Regions from separate parts of the Homo sapiens genome. Here all the other regions are linked to region 3. Evidence: promoter capture Hi-C in 16 types of primary human blood cells and fetal thymus (Javierre and others, 2016). All regions are on one chromosome and are shown on one strand. Each heading gives the region's core, a stretch centred on a gene start or on the middle of the fragment in contact. The rest is flanking DNA. Distances are from core to core; before and after follow the strand shown. Region 1 holds the start of TTBK2-AS1 (TTBK2 antisense RNA 1). Region 2 overlaps STARD9 (StAR related lipid transfer domain containing 9). Region 3 holds the start of TTBK2 (tau tubulin kinase 2).

The links. The method cuts DNA at HindIII sites, captures the fragments that hold promoters and counts their contacts. A CHiCAGO score of 5 or more calls a contact.
Region 1: a fragment that was not itself captured here is called in contact with the fragment with the promoter of TTBK2 in region 3 in 16 of 17 cell types (endothelial precursors, erythroblasts, megakaryocytes and 13 more); the score reaches 30.3 in endothelial precursors.
Region 2: a contact is called between a fragment that was not itself captured here and the fragment with the promoter of TTBK2 in region 3, in 2 of 17 cell types (M0 macrophages and megakaryocytes). The highest score is 6.1, in M0 macrophages.

What each region holds. Positions count from the first base shown.
Region 1 is chr15:42,737,672-42,741,474 of GRCh38, reverse strand. TTBK2 (tau tubulin kinase 2) reads left to right here. Exons shown (of 15, transcript NM_173500.4): 15 at 1-2,745. TTBK2-AS1 (TTBK2 antisense RNA 1) reads right to left here and starts at 2,357. Exons shown (of 3, transcript NR_186317.1): 1 at 2,240-2,357; 2 at 1-22. The HindIII fragment of the contact is 792 bases long and covers 1,010-1,801 here.
Region 2 is chr15:42,673,617-42,677,285 of GRCh38, reverse strand. STARD9 (StAR related lipid transfer domain containing 9) reads right to left here. Exons shown (of 33, transcript NM_020759.3): 17 at 2,795-2,846; 18 at 2,322-2,459; 19 at 1,540-1,622; 20 at 1,311-1,414. Among named protein-coding and RNA genes, the nearest start is that of CDAN1, 62 kb to the left of the region's middle. The HindIII fragment of the contact is 9,626 bases long and covers 1-3,669 here.
Region 3 is chr15:42,919,312-42,923,172 of GRCh38, reverse strand. It overlaps TTBK2 (tau tubulin kinase 2), which reads left to right and starts at 2,395. Exons shown (of 15, transcript NM_173500.4): 1 at 2,395-2,735. RefSeq lists enhancers at 1,774-1,873, 2,076-2,576, 2,577-3,077 and a silencer at 2,394-2,803. The HindIII fragment of the contact is 8,148 bases long and covers 1-3,005 here.

The sequences.
Region 1 (3,803 bases), core at 156-2,655, 180 kb after region 3:
CTGTGTAACTTGGGGTTTGGCCCTGTGGACAATATATTAGCAGAATGATACCACACAAAAGTATTACAGGATTAAGGCATGTAACTTCTATGGTAGTCCTTATGTATCAGCGTATACCCAAGTTCAGAAACCACAGGTGCATTTTTAGACCTTTACTTAGAGAACTAAAGGCAGTTCCAACCATCAGCCCATATGGCGGGATTAATGCATGAAAACCCTCAGAGGGTGTTGGGACATCCTACTTCCCTGTCCTCACCCAGTGGAACTCTGGTGTGTGCCTTGAGGATAAGGAAGTAGAGTGGAAACTCATCCTATCATTGAGTATTCTCAATATTTTGGCCTTCCCTCTGGAATTATGAGAAATTTAACAAAGTCTCAGGAACCTTTAGAATCCATTGTCCAACACTGCTAGAAAAACTGTAGGAGGTACATGGAGAATTCCTATAGTTCTTAGGTAAGTGCAAGACATGGCACAGGGATCCCTATCCACATAAAGGGGAATCTGGATGCTGCACACCTCAATTCTGAGAAATCCCTGACTGAACTTGGAATTATGACAGTAAAGTTTTCGTCCTTTAGTTTTCTAGAGCAGCTCACAGAAATTTTAAAAAGTAAAACAAGGCCAGGCGCAGTGGCTCATGCCTGTAATCCCAGCTCTTTGGGAGGCTGAGGCGGGCAGATCACGAGGTGAGGAGATCGAGACCATCCTGGCTAACAGGGTGAAACCCCGTCTCTACTGAAAATACAAAAAATTAGCTGGGCATGGTGGCGGGCGCCTGTAGTCCCAGATGCTCAGGAGGCTGAGGCAGGAGAATCGCTTGAACCTGGGAGGCAGAAGATTACAGTAAGCCAAGATCGCCCCACTGCACTCCAGCCTGGGCGACAGAGTGAGACTCCGTCTCAAAAAAAAAAAAAAAAAAAAGTAAAACAAAAATAAAGTCTATGCCCATTAAGACGTCTTCTAATTCAGTTGTGATTGTCTGCTCCTACTTAAAAAAATATTTAAGCTTGATGTTTAATTATTCCCTTTCAGCAAATTTGGATCAGAAAATTAAAGTATGTGACAAGATCAGGTCACCTTGAATTTCCACACAATCTCAAGACACTGAATAGCAAAAAAGTAACATTACACAGTAATGATTAGGATATTTCCTTAGACTTTGCTGGATCTTTGGTCTTAAGGTAACATGTAAAAGTAGTGAAGCCTTTCCTTTCATGGCCCTGTGCAATGTAACGGTTTTCTGCCTCCTCTTCAGCTGGAAGCGTTAGTGGTAGTATGGGCACAGAATATATGTACACTGGCGATGCTGACCATGCCTCCCAGGTACCCTGGCTCTGGGTTCCTTGACCTAGGGAACAAGATTGGATGAGGCAGATCTTTGAGCCCATGTGACTATAGAATTTGCTGATGATATAATTTTACAATAACAATGGATAGGAATTTTACCTCTCTTTTTATTAGTTTAATATTATTTAATATTATGTACATAAGTGTTCACTCGCCTAATTAAAAACATTGAGTAAACCAAGTTTTTATATAGACTACCCTTGCCATATGATGCTCTTTTTCTCTAATAATATGCAGTTTAAATCCTGAGGAATCAATGCCCAGCATTTCACCACATCTGAACTCTGTGTGGGCATTCTTCACTCGCCTACAAGGGGTAAACAAGGCTACCAGAACTTGAATTTGACTTATAGGGAGCTACCCAGGAAGGGGAAAGCCCTTGGGACTTTTTCCAAAACAATCTTCTATTTGAACTGTTCATCAGCCAAAGTAGTCCACTGAGGTGACAAAGCTTTCAGAAATACAAAGATGGGAAGATAAAGGTAACACTGGCCCACTTGGGGCTTTGACATTGGATTGGGTGGACTGAATAAACACAGCCTAGGTGGCCTGGGCTTGAGCCTCACTTACTTCTCCTTGATACATAGTTCCTGGTCTACCTTCTGACCCTTTTTCTAAAATAGCCAGTGTCTATTTCACTAGGCCATTTACTTACAAGTTCCCAGCTTTTAGGGAAAAAAGAGGGAGGGGGGAGCATCTAGTTTTGAATTAGATATACATCTTAGAAGTAATGAGCTATTGGCAGCTGTTAAATCAGATTCAGCCACAAACCAGAATTCTTTCTTGTTGAACAAGACCAATGAGTTAGATGACTTTAATAATTCCACTTTTCTCTCCCTCTCTTCTCCTCTTCCTGAAATCAGAGAGATGAGAAACTACTCTTTGAAATACCTCCAGAGGCGTTTTATTGTGTTCCTTTCCCCTCCAAGCAGCTCCCTTTATACAATTTTGCTCAGGCAACCAAGGACAGAGTATCGGCAGAAACATGGAGTGCTTTTGTATAGGCCACCTGTACATAAAAGTGTAATTATTTATTTAATTTTCCCATTTGTATCATATTAAAGCTTTGTACAGTGTTTTAAGTTCTGTTTTAAAATTATTTTGTATTTTATTTTTATAACCTAGTAATAAAATATTCATTCCGCATGCAAAATCTAGTTCTGTTTGTGTGATGGTCTGGATTTCAAAAGTGGAAAATATTTTTCTAATTTAATAAAGTTATTGAATACACCAGATGTTACAAGATCAACGGGGAGCAGATAGTGTTACTGTAAATGCAGTACCACATCTAGAAGTTCCCTAGAAAAAGCAGCCCAGGACTGAATAGAAGCTAGGTGTTAAGTGTCCCTGCAGTTAGGAGATGTTTTCCTGTAATAAAATTAAAATATTAAAAGCTCCTTTTTAGTCCATTATTCTGTCTGGCTGGAGGTACTTTTTCCTTCTCCATAGGAAATACCCCTTCTGCCACTAGAGAGATTCCTGCACCCCCACCCTCATCCTTCCGCCCGTAACCTTCCTTTGAACCAGAGCAACTCTCAGGAGGCATTCACAAGGGCACTGCCTCACCCCTCCTGGTTTGGTTTGACATGGAATGTTCGTGCCATCTGTTTTTCTCCGCTTGGATTCCCTTGCTTGATTTGTCACTGAGCAGCAACCTTCAAAATCCTCTCTCAGGTTTTTTTGTTTTGTTTTGTTTTTGAGATGGAGTCTCGCTCTGTCACCCAGGCTGGAGTGCAGTGGCGTGATCTTGGATCACTGCAACCTCCGCCTCCCAGGTTCAAGCGATTCTCCTGCCTCAGCCTCCCCAGTAGCTAGGACTACAGGCGCGTGCCACCACGCCCAGTTAATTTTTGTATTTTTATTAGAGACACGGTTTCACCATGTTGGCCAGGATGGTCTCCATCTCTCGACCTCGTGATCCGCCCACCTCTGCCTCCCACTGCATTCCAGCCCCGGGGGTGACAGAGCGAGACTCCATCTCAAAATAAAATTAAATAAAGGAGATTAAGAAATTACTCAGGCCGGGCGTGGTGGCCCACGCCTATAATCCCAGCACTTTGGATCTGCTGCCCTCTCCCGGCCAAAACATTAGCTGGGCTATAGCCCTAGGGAGGCTGAGTCGGGAGGATTGCTTGAGCCCAGGAGGCCAAGGCTGCAGTGAGCCGTGCTCACGCCACTGCACTCCAGCCTGGGCAACAGAGCAAGACCCTGTCTCAAAAAAAACAAAACAAAAACAAAAAACACCAAACCCAAAAATACAAACCTCAAGCTCCCAGAAGCTAATCATGATATGCTTACTGACATCTAAACTGCAAAGTAGTTGAAATATTAACCTCATGTAAACCCACTTAAGTAAATAAAGCTACATACAAGCAATTCTGTGTGCAGGGTGGCCCGAGGCACTTTAAGGGTTGTGGCTTGGGGATTATTAAGAACCTCCTAGAAATAATTCTTT
Region 2 (3,669 bases), core at 880-3,379, 250 kb after region 3:
CATTGTTTGTTTTTCTTTTTTTGAGACGGAGTCTCGCCCTGTCGCCCAGGCTGGAGTGCAGTGGCGCAATGTCGGCTCACTGCAACCTCTGCCTCCTGGGTTCAAGTGATTCTCCTGCCTCAGCCTCCTGAGTGGCTAGGACTACAGGCATGTGCTACCATGCCCAGCTTTTTTTTTTTTTTTTTTTTTTTTTTTTAAGTAGAGACGGGGTTTCACCATGTTAGCCAGGATGGTCTTGATCTCCTAACCTTGTGATCCACCCACCTCGGCCTCCCAAAGTGCTGGGATTACAGGCAGGAGCCACCGTGCCCAGCCCTGATCAGAGCACTTCTGCTCCTGTATCCAACATTCCTCACTGCCAAGGTCAGACATAAGATTGTCTTCATCTGCCATCAAATGCTGCTGGCCTGAGGAAAGAACTGCTGGATCCTTCTGAAGAAACTACGGGCCATCATAACTACTGAGACCCTGTGCTCAAGGTGTTTGGCAGCCTCCCAACACCAGTGATGTCACAGGCACCAAGTCCCCTGCTGAAATTTTCTAAAGGAAATCTCTAAGGCAGAGGTCACTTTGACGTACAGGAATAGAAGGACTCCCAGTACCAAATCTGCAAGGCTTCTGGATCTGGGAAGGGTGTTTTATGTAGAAACGGATGAAGTATGAAGTAGAAAAGTAGTTGCCATCAATCCCATATAAAACTCTGACTCAATGTTTCATAGTTACAATGCAGGCAAAGTGGGTATGAGAGGGTAGAACCAAAAGATATTTTCATATTGTTCCTATAGTTTCTGCCCCTCTATGCACAGTTCTGGATTCTTGGTTATGAGAAAGAAAGCCTTCTCAGTCACACACTATCTTTAAAAACTCAGAGAAAGCCATACGTTCTGGAAGCTATGAGCTCACATACACTACGTGACATATACTATGAGCTCACACACAGGCCAGAACTTAAAGGAGTATATGGGAAGGTAAGCTCAGAACAAAGATGTCCACAAACACAGCACAGCTAAATTTTGTGGAGAGAGAAAAGTGGCCACAGGAACATCAAATAATGTACCTCTTTCAGTGATGAAAAAAGTCGAAATACCAAAGAGGAAATGAACAAGGGCCAAGACCAATTCCCTGCCAACTACGAACTTAGCAGCTAGTTCAGCATCATCAAATGACTTGCCCAAGTTGATTCAGACAAGGGCTCATTCAGACCTTGGCTGCTACATTAATCACCCCCCACCCCCACCCTGATCCATGCTGTCATGGACTAAGAAGCGAACCCAGTAGGTTCCACATCAGTATAAGCAGCTATTTCTTACCTTTCCTTCCAAAGCAAAGGGGAGAGACCCAGCCGGGAGGCAGCGAGATCTCCATCCAAATCCAGCCACTCCAACGAGCCACGACCAGCAGCAGCCTCTCCAACCTTGAACAAGGAAGAAAGCACAGTGAGGCTGCTGTCATCGCCTCCACCTCTCCCAGCTTGGCTTTTCATCTAAAAGGTGGAAACAGGGAGGCCAGCAATAACCTAGAAAACACAGCCCTGCTAACCTGCCTTCGCTGCCGCAGGACAGCAGCCTCTGCTGGGTGGTTGAATCGGAACTTCTGTGCCTTCCCCAGGGTTATGACAGCTCCTGCAGCACAGAGACAAATGAGAATTCAATCAACAGCTCATGTTTTGGAGTACATACTATGTGTACGGCACTGCTCTGTGAGACAAAGTCATGCCCTCGATAACTGATAATTTTGCTGAGTTGATAAGATACATATTAATTCTGCATCTCACAGCATACATCTTGAATTAATAAGACAGACAGGAAGAACTCTACTATTCCAAGGGAAAGGAAGTTGAGTTCCAGGTGGAGTAGTCAGGGAACACTTGATGGAAGAGGAGGAATCTCAGCTCAGTCTCAAAAGAACAGACAGAATTTGCATAGATTAATAACAGTAGCGGTAATTAAAGTAATAATGATAATGAGTGTTTACAGAGTGCAAAGCACACTGTTAAGAACTATAAGGTTCATTCAATCCTCACAATGATTCTATTATTATCCCCATTTTATAGATGAGGAAAGTTGAGGCTCAGAGACTTTCCTAGGGAGACAGAGCTAATTAACACAGGTACAAATTTCATACAGTCATTCTTCACTCCAAGACTTTGGAATTAAGGCTTGTTTATGGGAATAGGATCATATTAGAAAATCTTCAGACTTCAGGGTGCAGAGGCTGGGTGATCCATTTTTAAAGCCTGCTTCACTGAGCTCTTTGGGCCCATGAAACTGGAGCTGGTCCATCACTCATCTTGGGATAAACAGGGCTACAGACAGTCCTACCTTGAGTCAGACGGCAGGAGGCAGTGACCTCCCGGCCATTGACTGTACAGCGGGCCCCACGGGCAGGTCGTAGAACAACTACACCACAGGCACTGGTGATAGTGCAGTGGTCTCTCTCAATCCACTGACCCTGCAGGACTACAAAAGAGGTGGTGGTCACTTGGGTGGGAGGACGATGCAGGGAAACACCCTCTCCATTTCTTTCTGTGAGATCAGAATCCAAAATCTGGAAGACCTCATACCATAATAAAAGAGGAAGAGCTGACCTGAAACCACCCAGACCTGAAATCCTCCCACTGCGTGGGTCTCCCCCTGTGACGTCCCAGACCTGAAACCTAGCAGCAGAAAGAGAAGCAGGCCCTGAATACGCCAATGATTCCCTTCTTCTCAGAGCATCATCAAAGTCCTCGAAGAAACCTTTCGGGCACAAATACTAGCCCCAAAATGCTGGACTCATATACTCTGCCACTTACCAATGTCCTGTTCCTGGTCTGAGTCAATCCTTCCTATTTTTGTTGTCCCTTCCTAAAGGGGGAAAAAAGCCATTTTAATGAGAATTAAAAGGGACAGAGCCTTGCCCTACAGGAGAGTCCACATTAGAATATTCTCACTGTCTTCCCAGCCTCATCTGTACCACTTCTCATCCCATCCCAGCCTGGTCGGTACCACTTCTCAACTTTGGTCCCGGCTGTTCTGACCCTCTGCCCACTCACTCTACAGCCCAGGAAGCCCCTGAGATGGTAGAGCTAAAAAATATACCACAAAGCAGCCCAAGCTATTTGCAAAGTCCAGCAAGTGTGGGCAAACTCCTTTCTGTCCCACAGCCTAAAGTTAGGGAATAGTTACAGCCATTGGTCAGAAAAATTCTCTAGTCCGAGAAAGTACATGCAAAAGTATGGCTTTTCCCTAAGGGGCAAAGGTTGATGTGGTCCAAGTTTGATCCAGTAAGTCTCAATCAAACAAGCATTTTGTGAAGATTTATGGAAACACAGGATTTTTACCTTCTTGGTCCGCAGATGAAGTTTAACAGACACCAGATTCTAAGAAGGGTAAAAGCACAAATAGGAGAAAAGCACCTCTAGAATAAAAAAGAACTGGAAGAGAGTGTAAGAGAGGAGGGGGAAACTGGAGTTAGTACAAATGAATCAGTGGATTAGTTGAAGACAAGGCCTTTTAGACCTCAGATTATGGCAAATTTGCTTAAGACCCACATAGCTATGTTAGGAAAAGGCAGCAACATGGCAACCGGGATGCTAAATTTTAGACATATCTTTATCATTTATTGACTATTCAATATGTCCTAGGCATTATGCTGAGTACTTTATACAAATCATATTACTTTATCCTT
Region 3 (3,861 bases), core at 1,146-3,645:
ATGCATATATATTTGAGTTTTATATATATACTTGAGATCTATCTATATCTATAACTCAAAGGGGATTCCTAAACTCCAGTACCAGCTCTTGAATAACATATTACATTGACATTTAGCCTGACTGAAAGAGTATCTCTGGGGACAGCTCAATAATTCTAAAATGGAAAAGACTGGAGAAAAGGGGAGGCTTTTATTGCTAAGCCTAATTTCAATGAATCTGGACATTTTTTCCCTAGAAACTTTTTTTTTTTCTTTTTTAAAGACAGGGTATCTCTGTTGCCCAGACTGGAGTGCAGTGATGCGATAATAGCTCACTGCAGCCTTGACATCCAGGGCTCAAGCAATCCTCCTGCCTCAGCCTCCCAAGTGGCTGGGACTACAGGTGCATGCCACCACACCTGGCTAATTTTTGTATTTTTAGTAGAGACAGGGCTGGCTAACTAAAAATTTTTTGTGTGTAGAGACAAGGTCTTGTTATGTTGCCCAGGCTGGTCTTGAACTCCTGGGCTCAACCGATCCTCCTGCCTCAGCCTCCCGAATAGCTGAGACTACAGGGGCATGCCACCATGCCCGGCTAATTAAAAAAAATTTTAAATCCATGCTTCCGTGATCATTTTGTGTGTGTGTGTGTGTGTGTGCAGAAGGAGTCTCCTTATGTCTCCTTACATTGCCCAGTTTGGTCTTGAACTCCTGGACTGAAGTGATCCTCCCACATCAGCCTCTCAAAGTGCTGGGATTGCAGGCATTAGCCACTGTGCCTGGCCCCTATAAACTTCTTTAATTTTAAAGAAAAATATTTACAGAAACCCTAATGTTTTCTTATTCAAATTATGTGATTGGTCAATACTCTGAAATGAATGAAGTACTCTATTAGACATAGTAATAGAAAAAGTAACGTGTGGTTTTAATCAGTAGAAATAAAAAACAATTTGGCAACATCTTTATGTTTGCATAGAACAAGATGAGCTGCATCATCACTTGCCTTTAATGTACATTTTGTCCTGCTTTCAATCCAAGGATCTGGACATGACAGAGAGTAGAGATGCCTGCTGTTTTTAAAAAGAATGGCAAGAGGCTGTGGCACTTCCTGAGCAAGAAGAAACAGATTCTATAGGAACAGTTCCAAGATTGAATATAGGATTAGTCATTTACCTTTCTATATTCTTAATCAGCTTTAATGACAATGTCACTTGAGTGAAGAAAAGGATTTAAAGTAAAAATGAAGTTCATAATTCATTACATTCTTTCCATTCATGGCAGAACCCTGGGGATCATTGTGATTCTTAAGTAGAAAGGACATTAGATGTGGGGCGTATGAGAGACCTGAGTTTTGGTTTTGCCACTGATTAGTTTATAGCCTTAGGAAAGCTGTTTAGCGTTTTTCATGTGTTTTCTCTACTGTACACTGGTGGGCAAAGATGGGAGAGGTGCTTAATCTTAAGGTTTTCCTTCGCCAAAGCGACTGACACAACACTAAATAGAAACGCATCCTGCACAGCGTCCTTGCTCCGCCCTCCTCGCTTTTCTTTGAAAGTCTTTGAGCACCTCCCGCATACACTTGCTCAGCATCGCATACTGGTGTGCACCGGGGCTGGCCATTGAGTCTTTAGCTGGTGGTGTTTCACAAAGGGAATGAAATCTTGTTCTTGGGTTGTGAAACCGTAAGGACACTCCGGTCTCCAAGTTGACATTCGTTTATGGAAGTGCCCATCTCCTTTCCTCGTCACACCTAAGGCCCTTCCCCAGTCCCCCAAAGATGATTAGCTTCACGTTAGGCGGTTCTGGGGACGGCGCCAATTTGCGGGATGCTGTCAGCGCTGATGCTGAGGAAGAGGATGGATCCTTAAGGCTTGCAGGGCCTCACGATTTGGGCCCTTCATCGCGACTGCCTCAGTGTGTAATTTCGTATCGTGACAAAGCATTTCCGATTTTATTCCGAAAAGCCCAACCATGGGGTCCCAACCATCCCTCTATAACCAATTTAACTGTCACGCTAGGAGAACACCTATGTGCGCAAACTACTTGTCTCGGAAGCCCTACTTCTCTCCTCGGGACAGGCGGGGAGTTGCGGCTATGGCTGGAACTACGAGGCCCAGAATTCCTAGGCGCATGCGCGCTGCCATTGTGATGCTCCTTTCCCGGTAACTCGCCCTCTCAGGCAAACCTGAAGATAGCGGCAATTCTCCGGTGGGGGGCGGAGACGGTTTCTGCCCGACTCTCCGCCCCCTTCGTGATAGGCAATGGGACTAGCCAACCGACGCTGCGAGTTCGGAACGCACTCTCCAATCAGCACCTGTAGCGGAGAGGTGGGCGTGCGCGCTGGCAGGGCAGGTGGGCTAGGCTGTGTCGGGTTACGAGGGGGGAGAATAACGTCGGGTCGGGTCAGCGGGCTCTGCAGTAGTCGCCGCAGCGGCGATGGGAGCGGTGGGGACGAGGCGGCGGCGGCGGCAGGAGGGGGAGCAGGTGCTGGCACAAGAGCAGCGGCTTGGGGGAGCCGGCAGCAGCAGTAACAGCAGCAGCAGCCGCCGCCGCCGCCGCCAGTAAACGCGGACGGTACCCCAGGGGACTACCCAGCCGGCCGGCCCTGGAAGCCGCGCTCGGGTCCCGCCGCAGTCGGCGGTGGGGGATGGGCAGGCAGTGGCGGTCCCGCCTGCCGAGGGTTAACCCCCGCCGGTCCCGGTCCTGAGCTGGACCAGAGCCCTCCTCCAGAAACCCCTGCGTCCGCCACGGCCCAGGTAGGACACACCCCCCGACCCCCCAGGGCGCCGCCCTCCCCCAGTCTCGACCCCCTCCTCCGGCCGCACCCCTCGCCGAGTGACCGAGCCTGCTGAGGAGGGGAGGGGTACCGGGGACTTTCAGTTCGCTGCAAGCCCGGGGCTCGTGCCAGACCCCGTCACTCTCCATCTCGGAGATCGTTCTGGTTCTGCCCGATTTCCCCGAAGGCTGCCGCCTCGTTTTGCCCCAGGCTTTGGGTGTCTTCACTGAACTTGGAGGGTCACGAAGCTTCGTTCTGCGTCTCTCTCTGTGGGTGACCCACATATCACTTGTACCCATGCCACTTCTGGTACCAGCACCGAACACGAAGGATTCCTAGGAAATCTGAGCGCTTATTTCCCACCCCGCCTCCCCAACTATCATGGAAAGGAACATGGGACTACTGAATCTGTTTGCTGTGTTGTAACGACAGTGAAGGCCGCGACTTTCTTGTACTTAGGGTGCTGAAGTAATGATCTGAGGGATTTGCTCGTCATTTGCTGTGGCAGAGATGATGTTGACACCCTGGGATGCTGTGGGAGGGACAAAAGACTCACGTATATGTTCTGTCAAATCGGAGAAGTAAATAATCCATTGGGATGCCAGGATACTTTATTCTACAGCGAAGTTAATTTTGTATCCGTCGAGGCTACAGTAGAGGTAAAAATGACATTGAGTTGTACTTTGCTTTGAATTAAAGTTGATGGGTAGCAGCAATCCTGGTATTAACTCTTCTCTCTCATCGCTTTAGAAATTATTCTTTCTTTGAACATTAAAGAGGACAGTTTTATTATACACTTCTAATAATGTGAAGATGTTTTGTAATTCAGTAGAAATTGAGTTTCTGTGTGTGTAGGAGGGTCATGTTATGAATGGGCACATGTAGACACACACGCAGAGGGAGGATCCACTCAGTGTGTTTTGTTAACAATGTTTGGTTCTGAGCCATTGATAATAGTTGCATTGGTATCTAAACCCTGATTTGCCACAGTATAACACAAAGATGTGTTGGCTGTGTACCTTTGGCTAAATGGAATAGAATAAAGTTCATTTGGGGATAGAAGGGGGAAATGATTTTAACTTATCAAGGGAATTGAATGCTATGTA